2 separate regions of the Homo sapiens genome follow, and region 2 is linked to region 1. Evidence: promoter capture Hi-C in 16 types of primary human blood cells and fetal thymus (Javierre and others, 2016). All regions are on one chromosome and are shown on one strand. Each heading gives the region's core, a stretch centred on a gene start or on the middle of the fragment in contact. The rest is flanking DNA. Distances are from core to core; before and after follow the strand shown.

Evidence for each region. The method cuts DNA at HindIII sites, captures the fragments that hold promoters and counts their contacts. A CHiCAGO score of 5 or more calls a contact.
Region 2: a contact is called between the fragment with the promoter of GATAD1 here and the fragment with the promoter of ING3 in region 1, in 3 of 17 cell types (total B cells, non-activated CD4 T cells and naive CD8 T cells). The highest score is 6.6, in total B cells.

The regions. Positions count from the first base shown.
Region 1 is chr7:120,949,034-120,954,140 of GRCh38, reverse strand. ING3 (inhibitor of growth family member 3) reads right to left here and starts at 3,364. Exons shown (of 12, transcript NM_019071.3): 1 at 3,217-3,364; 2 at 2,906-2,977; 3 at 737-837. The coding sequence starts at 3,244. RefSeq lists an enhancer at 2,742-2,821. The HindIII fragment of the contact is 9,487 bases long and covers 1-5,107 here.
Region 2 is chr7:92,443,599-92,449,076 of GRCh38, reverse strand. GATAD1 (GATA zinc finger domain containing 1) reads right to left here and starts at 1,595. Exons shown (of 5, transcript NM_021167.5): 1 at 1,099-1,595; 2 at 200-325. The coding sequence starts at 1,347. RefSeq lists an enhancer at 426-475 and a silencer at 906-1,675. The HindIII fragment of the contact is 4,596 bases long and covers 1-3,505 here.

The DNA of each region.
Region 1 (5,107 bases), core at 2,115-4,614:
TAGTTGATCCTTGAACAATTCTATGAACATTGGGTTTAGGAAGGCATTATTATTCAGAAATATTAAGATTTAATGTCACACAGCTAAATAGCAGAATCATGACCAAACTCAAGTCTTTTAAGTTGTTTTTCCAATGTATCCATCCCTAAATGAACTCAATCATACTTTCAAAGCAAACTTTGAGATGTACGTGTATACTCATTCAATTCTGGAAGACAGCTATAGCCACTATAAAACTAACAAAACCTCAAAGAATTCTATGTTTCCAGACCAATTCGTGTGCAAATTTAGAGTTTAAACTAGAAGGCTTTCTTAAATTCCTTCTAACTTTTAAGATTTCGTTCTTCTGTGGGTCCACTAATTTAAGTACCTAGCAATATATAAAATATTCTTCAAGGTCTGCTCATGTTTATTTACCTAGTTTGTGGCCAAAACTGGAATACAGTACTCTATCTCAACTAGAATAAAACAAACTAATAGAAAAAAAAGTAACTTTTAAATGGTCTGTCACTTTCTAATACTCAGTAATTATTGAAACAATATTTTTAATTACCAAAACGCTTTAATGACTAAAAATCCCTATCTGAAGCTCTAAACCACAATAAATTATTTATATTCTAAGGAGTCATTGATAATATTCTCTCATTTTGATATCCAGACCACTATTTAATTTTGAAATATCTTTTTCAGAGGGTCCCAATATTTCTTGATAAATTATCCAAAGTGTTGCACATACTTTTTTGATGGATGCCATTTGCTCTTCCCTCCACTCAGGTTTATTTTTCTTTGCATTCATAAAGAATTCACTGACTCTTTGTTCTAGTTGATCCATTGCATCTATGACATAATAAAAAAAATTCATATTAAATGACCAAATTCATATACTAAATATACATGGTTTGATTTAGGGAGGGAAAAAATCTGACAATACACACTCTTTCACCTTGCCAGTAACTTAAATATGTTATGCTTTGATTGTGTAAATATATAATGCCTCAATTATCTTCCTTTAAAAAGTTACAATTTTCCTTATTGACAGATTATTTTTGTTTTTGTTACTTCAAAATTTTTTCCAACAGCCAAAGTAGATAGGCTCTATACTATAATTTTTGAGCAATAAAGCCTTTAGGTCAAAAGCTAATGGTATTAAATCAGACAAATGTACCGAAACACAATTAAAACACCATTAGATAATCCTCACATTTCTTTTAACAAGAAAAAGTGATAAAAATATTTGGTATATGGCATTAAACATCTCATCATGTCATATCCCAACTGAAAGTAGTAGGTACAATCATTTAAACATTAATTCTAGGTAAGTTTTCCCCAAATTATATGCCAAGACTAATCATCTCATTGGATGTCTGCTAAAAAAAAAAAGGAAAAATTAATAAAAAAGATTCTGTTGTTATGTAAGTTGAGAAAAATCTTTTCATAATATACTTCTTTTGGAGATTTCCAGTCCACAATAGCCTTTTAAAGACTCTATGAAGTCCTATGGTTAATTTTTTAGAAGTATGTTCCTTTGTTTAAATAAGCATTTCTGAATTTATTTGGCACACAGTTCTGTTAATCCATAATACCTATTAACTTTAGAAAATTCTAGTTACTGTAAAGAAATGCACGTTTAAAAAGCCTGTAATATGTATAATGTAAGCCCAAATTACAAGAGAATTTAAAATTTTAAACAATAAAATATAAAAATAATTTAAAGTAAGTTACCCTTTATTTAATGCCTACTTTGTATCAGATACTAGAAATTCTAATCCATGTGTAACATTTTAAATCCTTGGATGATTCTCTTTTTATAGACAATGTAAGCCCCTCACAAGTGATAATACAGTCAGAGTCAATGAGTAAATTAGTAAAGCCCTAAAACAAACTCAGATCTGACATCAATGTCTGTGCTCAGTCCTGCAGAGAACACTACTTCAGCAAATCTTCAGCATTTCAACTACACTAAAATTAAAATGAATTTGTGAGATAGCTGGAGAACCACACACACAATTCATACTTCATATCACAATCCACTGAACAGAAAGTGGCTTCCATGCCACCACTTTTTATTATGTGCCACCTGAAACTTACCGGAAAAATATACTCATAAGCAAAGGGTATAGAAGTGGGTGTGTGGTCATGGGCAGAGAAGCCAGGAGCAGTGAAAAGGACAGGTTCTTAGCTGCAGCAGGTGGTCCCTGAGCCACCTATTTATAGTCGTTGCTCTATGAAAGAGCAAAGTTAATTTGGGGAAAAAGTCCTAGAGACTACCAAGCTATCACTGAAAGAAAAAGAAATGTTCATTAACTGCTAAAATTTTTAGTACAGCACATAAGAAACTTTACAGTGAAATCTAATTTCTGTCACTCATTTTAACCAAGAAAATGACGATTCTGTTACAATTTAAAATGTATCTAATGTGTAACTAAGTTTTCAAAATTTGACATTTGCCATGGTCTCTAAAGAGCTATATATAACCTCTGCTTCTGTGCTTTCCACTCTTGAAAAACTGTGAATAGGATGAACTTTAAAATAAGTATAAATGCTGAAATCTAAGTTCGATACGAAAAGGCTCAAGACGACATCTCAACATTTATTATGCTGACGTCCATTGAAACATAGATAACTATGTCAATGACGGTAGAGAAATATTTTTTGCACAATCCCACATTCTAGAAAGGAATACACGTGTCCCAATGCCTCCTGCTCTTGCAAAAGCCAGAAAAAAGTAGCATGGGAGGGAAGGGGAAGGCGAGATTCAGGGCTGCCAGTTCTTTTTGACAACTCCTTATGCACTAGCGGAGTGAGCCAGAGGACAGTGAAAGAGCACTAGGCGCTAGCAGTGATGACAAGCAAGTCTGGCACTGAACGCGCGCAGCGAACAGGAGTAGTAGACGCGCCGACTTACTCTGCACCTGCAGGTCCATCTCGCGCATTTCCGTGAAGCGGTCCCGCAGATCCATAGGAAGCTGCTCAATCACTGTCAAAGGGAGAGTCCGTCAGAGGGGCGGGGCCAACGGCGAAATACGCGCTTACGTCACTGCGCGCGTGCGTCAGGGGGGTCGAGGGGGCCGGCAGCCCACAACGAGGCTGCCAGTTACCGTGAGAAAGAAACATCCCCCGCCGCCCCCTCCCTCCCGCCATCTCGCTGCCCGTCCACTCGCGCTCTTGCCCGCCCGCACGTCCCACTGGCGGCCGCCGCCAGCGCCGCGCACTCACTTTCCAGATAGTCTTCTAGGTACAACATCGCGGCCCTTAGAGCTGAGGGAACAAGGGGGTCCAGGGGTTTATTTGTGTCACTCGCTGTCGCCGGAGTTTTGTCCCCTCCAATATGGCGCCTCCGCTAGCAGCACCCGCTCGACTCCGGCAAAAAAAAAAAAAGAAAAAAAAAAAAACCACTTTGGCGCCTGAGGCGCTTGCCTCACTGCCGCCCGGAGCTGCTATTGGTTGGTTCAAGCAATGACGTAGCCCGGCCGGTGTTCGCCCCCGTGCCTCTGTGGGAAATGTAGTTTTCTTCCTCCTCAGCGAGGGTTGGCGCGCTGGCGGCTCCCCTCGCAGAAACTACGAATACCGGGCGCCATTGCAAACAGTGCGTAACAGAATCCGAAATGCGGTGCCTCTGTTTATTTGTTGATTTTTGCACAGAGAATGGCGGGAGTTGTATGCACCTGCATAACACAACTAGGAACAACTTTTCACCTGTTCTTTGATGTGATTCCATGCCCCGGCGTTTGTGAGTTATGGGTTTCAAGAAGTGCCAGGCAAATAGCAAAGGTTCTAAACACTAGAATAATCAGCAAAGTTCGGGGAATTTGGATTGCTTAAAATAGAACTCTCTACTGGAATTTATCCTCATTATTCACTCTAAAATATAAAAGAGACACCTGGTTGGCTTACGTGTAATTTTAAAATAGTTTATACTGAGACTATGGAGTGAATATACATTTCCCAGATTAAAAGATGCACAAATAGTGTCAGTAGCCACTTATATATTCTAGTTTGCGGTCCATCTAATCGTCATTCTAATGTAATTGATCTATACATACAATCTGCATCCGCAAATAATAATAATAATAATCTTCATCATCACAGTGAGCAGCCATGAATTACGGATGCAGCCTTGATTTCTAATAGGCTGTTAATAGCAGTAACTTTATGTTGAGTAAATAGTCCATATTCGAGGTTGGTTGTCTTCGGCGTTCTTTAGTTTCTACTTTTCGACCTCTCCCAGCAAATGTTTTCCTGTGATATATTTAGTACGTCCCTACTCAGTTTCTTTTTAAATTGTTTTTTATTAAAAACTCTTGCACTCAATAAATGCTAGATATTGTTATTTTCCACTCTTCTTAACTTTTCGATTTTCTGGGGAAATTGTCATTAGTTCATAATTTATTGTTCATTTTCTGTTTTTCAAATTGCAGTTGAAACTGTGTGTGTGTGTTTCTTGCTTTCCTTCTCCATTACATACTCTTGTACTCAAGGTTTTCACTGCTCTTAAGCAGGAAACTTTCCTGTCGTGAATGATGAATCATGATGAATCTCAACGGAACCTTACTTCGATCCTAATAAGAATTAGAATTTTATAGTTTCTAGTTAAGTTTTTCATTACTTCCATCGAAAATCAAGTACTTTCGATCTTTTTCTCCCTTCTTTTTTTCCTCCTTTCTTCGTTTCCCATCCTTCCTTCTTCTGGCTGCTTTTAACATCTCTTTGACATCTTTTTGCAGTTTTGTAGTGATCTAAGTCTGAATTCCTTCCTTATTCCCTTTTCTTTCCTTAAAATTTTAAAATTATGCTTAGGATTTGAGGGGATTCCTGAATTTCAGGATTGGTGCCCTGCAACAATTCTAGAAAATTCTCAGCGTTTGTCTTTTCAGTATTGCTTATTTCTCATTTTTTCCATTAAGACTTTCTCTCTTTATTCTCTTATTTATCTTAATCTTTCTTTTATATGTTTTATTTTAGAATTTTCATAATTTTTCAGGTTTGGAAGTTCTATTCGGTTCTCTTTTCAAGACATCTTATAATTTCTTATACAAATTATTTAGTCTGTATCTTGTTTCTGTTAAACCTAATATTGAAACATTTATGGGCCTTTTAGTGCTATTTC
Region 2 (5,478 bases), core at 346-2,845, about 29 Mb after region 1:
GAAAGAGTATTATTAACTTTATAAACAGTGAGCCTCCTGCAACAGAGCTCATTCCCTTTTGGGGAATCTGGACCATTCCCCAGAATACTAAGGAAGGGCTACCAAGGGCAGAGTCCAAGTTCAATGGTGAGAAATGAAGGCAGTGGCAGGATACACACAACGTCATTACAGTAAAAGGCACTGTCCACAAATATCTTACATTTTTCAATTTAAATATATGTCTTCTCCCTTTTCCTTTGGTGGAGACTTTCTTTTCAGCAGCCGGAGCAGATTTGTATTTAGTGTTTCTGAGCCGAGCAGACCTCCTGTGAATTTCCTGCTTACTCTGTTACACAAACAAATTAAAGAACAAAAAGAGAAAGAAGTAAAAAGTGCATAAAGGTTGCAGTACAATCATCTTACAAGGATCCCAGAGTATGTACTTTATAAGAGCATTTAACAATTAAGATTGCCCTTTTGCTTTTCAAGAGAAGTAATTACAGCAACTAGGCTAAGTAAAACCGGAAGTTCAGCACCCGGAATCTCGGAGCTCGCTGGACAGGCGTCTCCAGAGCCTCCAAAAGGTGTGAGCTGCTTGTAATAGGGCAGGAGGCGGGAGTAGGAGTCAGTCTTGACCAAGACAAACACTATTCATTTGTTGTGTCTACAATAGAGAAAAACACTTAACAACTTTACTCCCTAAGGCCAGAGAACGTAGTAGGTTATGGCGCCCCCTGCAACGGAATACTTAAGCTGCCATTTACAATAATGACATAATAATCTTACTTCATAACCTGATATGACAAAACCTTTAACAAGGAATGAGGTCCAGCGCCTGCATTTGTGGCATGACACTGTATACGACTGTGTAGACATGTGTATATTGAGATTTTCTTAAGGGCTTTACATCTTGGTTCTTATTGCTTTGAATTTCTTACAATAACAGGTGCTTCGGAATGGGCCAAACGAAAGATCTCAGTAGGAGGTGGGGAGGGGCGTTCCAGCCAGCAGGAGCACGGCGATCGGGGAAGCCCGCGCCCGCCCGCTCCCAGCCAGCCCGTCCCCGCCCGCCTAGCACCTGGTCGGCCTCCGCCGGCGGGAGGGGCCGGAGGAGCTCACCTGCTTGCCGCCCCCGCCCCCGTTGCTCTGCGGAGGGGTGGCGGAGGTGCTGGCGAAGGTCGCCGCGCCGAAGCCGCCGCCGCCGCTGCCCCCAGTCCCTCCAGCCGCCCCCGAGCCTGCGCCCCCGCTGCCCGCGCCGCCCCGGCCAGTGCAATGATGGCAGAGGATCTCCCCCTGCGCTCCCTTCTTCCACATGGAGGACGACGTGGTCTTGCATACGCTGCAGGTGGGCTTCAGGCCCAGCGGCATGGTGGCCGGCTCGGGCGGCCCCCGCGGGCGCAGAGACACGGGAATGGCGGACGGTAGCCCGGCCGCCCCCTGGTCGGCCCGCCACTCCCGGCGATAGGAAGAGCGGTGAGAGCGTCGGCACGGAGCTGCCGGTGAAAGGACCAGGCCGCTGGCGCTGCCCCGTGGAGGCGGGAAGCGGGTTCCGCCGGCTCCGCAGGCGGAGGCCAGGATTCCCTGGCCCGAGGCACTGGGAAGCAGGACTGGGAAAGGGATCTGGCCGGGGTGGGGGGGACGCGGAGACTTCCGGCGGTGAGCTGGCCCCAGGGCCCCGCAGCCCGACCGCCTGACCGGAAGTGCAGCACCCGGAATTACTGGGAGCTTGCTGCAGTTCCGCTTGCTGTCGCCTAGGGGCAGGGTTCTCAAACTTTTTGGTCTCAGGCCTAGAATTTGCCGGGTAAAATACAGGACGCCCAATTAAATGTGACTTTCAGGTAAACGACGAACAATTTTTTTAGCGTGAGTGTATCCCATGCAATAATGGTTTATCCGAGAGGCGTTTAACTGGGGGTCCTGTATTTTTATGTGCTAAATCTGGCAATCCAGGTCTGGCGTGGTGGCTCACGCCTGCAATCCCAGCACTTTGGGAGACCAAGGCCGGCGGATTACTTGAGCTCAGGAGTTCGAGATCAGCCTGGCCAACGTGGTGAAACCCCTTCTCTAATAAATATACAAAAATTAGCCGGGCTCAGTGGCGGGCTCTGGGGTAATCCCAGCTACCCTGGAGGCTGCGGCAGAAGAATCTCTTGAGCGCGGGAGGTGGAGGCTGCAGTGAGCCAAGATCGCGCCATTGCACTCCAGCCTGGGGGATAGAGTGAGACTCCGTCTCAAAAAAAAAAAAAAAATCTGGCAATCTTACTTAGGAACCCTTTACACTCTTAAAAATTATACTTTGGACATCGCCCTACACCTCCCCCATGTCTATACTTTTGTTTAGTTGAATTCAGAGCATGCCGTTTATGGACATCGACAAAGGGTTCAGAAAATGCCATCCACTGACATCTATGTATTAGAAATTGAAATTGAGACATTTTACAGCCTAAGATGTCAAGCGCACATTCTTCAGCCGTTGGATAATATCGTTGCAAATCCTGTGGACTCTGAAGAGTATACCGATTAGAGAATGCGGAGAAAATCGAATAGCTGGCTGTTATTCAATTCAAAACTGTTGGAAAACAGTTTTGGCTCTGAGGACCCAGCAGTTGACAAACAGCAGGCCTGGGACAAGAGCAGTATGAGAAGTCAGATCGCCTCTTTTAATGTCACTAGTCAGTACAGGCCTCGCCAGACAAGTCTCTCCTCAGCCTCACTTGGAAGAACATGCCCTCTCTTCATGATCCTGGGTTTCCTAGACTTAGTATCCTTGGAAAGGTCTTGATGAATATATTGTGGTGGGAAGCAGTGGGGAGAAACAAACGCCTATTATGTCACAAAACCACATTTAGTGCTTATAACAACCTTGGAATGAGATATTATCAGATTTTACTGTTAATTGGTGATCAACGGAGGCACTTCTATGTGGACTGGCTGTCATTATAGCTGCTGCCCTTGGCACCAATTTCGAGGAGGGCTTTGGAACAGCCCTCTGGGGTGTGGGTTGTGGCTCAGTCACCTCCCCTCTAAATCTCAGTTTCCTTAACAGTAAAAATAAGTTTCCAGGACTGTTATGGGGATTAGGGCCAACTGTAAAAGTGGCTGAGGAGACTAGGTAAAGAGTGTTGTCTCACTTTAGAACAATGCTGAAGGTGTTTAGAGCCTGCCATCCTAAAATATGCCACTTTGGCATACTGATTCTTCTGAGCCAGAGGCAATGGAGCAAAAACAGATGCAGGGAAGGCTGTCTGACCACCCTCTTTCTGTTTGAAGCGGAACATAAAAGTTCCCTTGTGAAAGGTGCCCTTTCTGTACCAGGAAGAGGAGAATATTATTGCCAGAGGCAGAGTTGCCACTGAGAAGAATCTACAAACAAAACCTTACAAAAATTTGTAACCCATATTTTCCATTAACTTTCTACATACGGTTCTTCGTCACTTTCCCACAATTTGCCAGCCTTAGCCCAAGCCCCTTTGTCTTGTCACATCCCTGCAATTTATTATTTTTTGTTTAAAAGGACATATAAGCTTTCGGGCCTAGTAACTTCTATGGGTCTTTATTTTTCTTACAAAGCCTCCTGTGCATGTACAAAAATATTAAAACTTTTATGCCTTTTCCAGTAAATCTGTCTTATGTTAGTGTAATTCCCATGCCCAGCTACAGAACCAAAGAGGTGAGAAGAGGCCAGGCGTAGTGGCTCATGCCTGTAATCCCAACACTTTGGGAGGCTGAGGCAGGTGGATCACCTGAGGTCAGGAGTTCAAGACCAGCCTGGCCAACATAGCGAAACCCCATCTCTACTAAAATTACAAAAAATTAGCTGTGTGTAGTGGCAGGCACCTGTAATCCCAGCTACTCGGGAGGCTGAGGCGGGAGAATTGCTTGAACCTGGGAGGCAGAGGTTGCAGCCTGGGCGACAGAGCGAGAGACTCCATCAAAAAAAAAAAAAAAAAAGGTGAGGAGGAAGTTTCTCCTCACCTACAGTGTGAGGAAATCTAGGCACTTGATTTCCATGCTCCTGAATGTCTCTCCATTTGGGAACATATACCTCTCCTTGCAACTCATCTGCAAGTGACTCCCTCTCATTCACTGAAAACTTTGGCCCATAACTCACCAGCTTCCTCTCCACTACAAGACACTGCCATGGATCAGGTCAATATCCACATGTACAGTTGTCCCTCAGTATCCATGGAGGATTGATTCCAGGACTCCCGATGATACCAAAATCCACAATCCATAAATGCTCAAGTCCCTTATATAAAATGGCATAGAATTTGCATATAACCTATGCGCACCCTCCTGTGTGCTTTAAATCATCTCTAGATTACTTATACCAAATATGAAATAAATGCTATATAAATAGTTCCTATACTGTATTGGTTTATTATTATTGTCATATTGTTCATATATTTATCTATTTTTGAGAATATTTTCGGTCTGTGGTTGGTTGAGTTTGTGGATGTGGAACCCATGGCTGTGGAGGGCCAACTGAATAACCACCCAACAGCAGGCTTCTCAACTCCTCCTCATCCCACTCATCTTCATCCTCTGTCCTTGTCAGCTCCCCAGTCCCTGGCTGCTGTATCCTCTAATCTTCTTAGATCATTAGGAAGATTTACATTTTTCTCCTTGCAAGTCCTTTTTTTTTTTTTTTTGGAAATCGTGCTTCCTTTTGAGTACTTAATTCACACTGTTTCCTCTCTTGGATGCTACTATGGTAACAGTCAGGTCCTCTCCTCTCAAGAACATTGCATCTGACCAGACTGAGAGCCAGCGTGAAAGCCAGCCTGAACATGGGCCCCAAATCAGGGTTTTTGGAATCACAAGGAACAGCAAAAACCAGCCTTTCCCTTCACTTAGAAAGGGACTGTGAATAGGAGGGCCCCAATCTCCACCATCCAAACAGAAAACCAAGAGCTCAGTGCCAACATGGAAACCAAAATGTATCAGGAATGAAGTACAGTACCCCCTCACATACTCAAGGTCAAGATGGGTTTGGGGAAATACCTATCTGACCATCTGGCCTCTTCTAGTAGGCATGGCCCCACACCAGCATTTTTAAAAGAAGATGTTTTCATTCTTCTTACATTTTCTAAAGGGGTATAAAATCTACTAAAAGGGATATAATAACTCAGAGTAAATGAGCTCACAAGAATCATTCCTGGATAATCATTTTTGGTTGCTGAGATTATTCAGCACATTACTTCAAAGTGGCAAAATTCAGGGCAATCTGAGAAAAGAGAATTAAAAAGTGGTGGCCACATTTGCTGACATGTTTATGTAGGACGCACATAACACAACTCCCATTTTTTTCAGTGTGTATGTCAAGAGGCCAAGACCCTGATCATCAAAATAAGTTATTTTGTGCATTACAGTGCACAGGACAACAGAGGGAATAACACTTTCTTGGAGGGTGTTGTGGGAATTCAGGGACCCCAAACGGAGGGACCGGCTGGAGCTGTGGCAGAGGAACATAAATTGTGAAGATTTCATGGACATTTA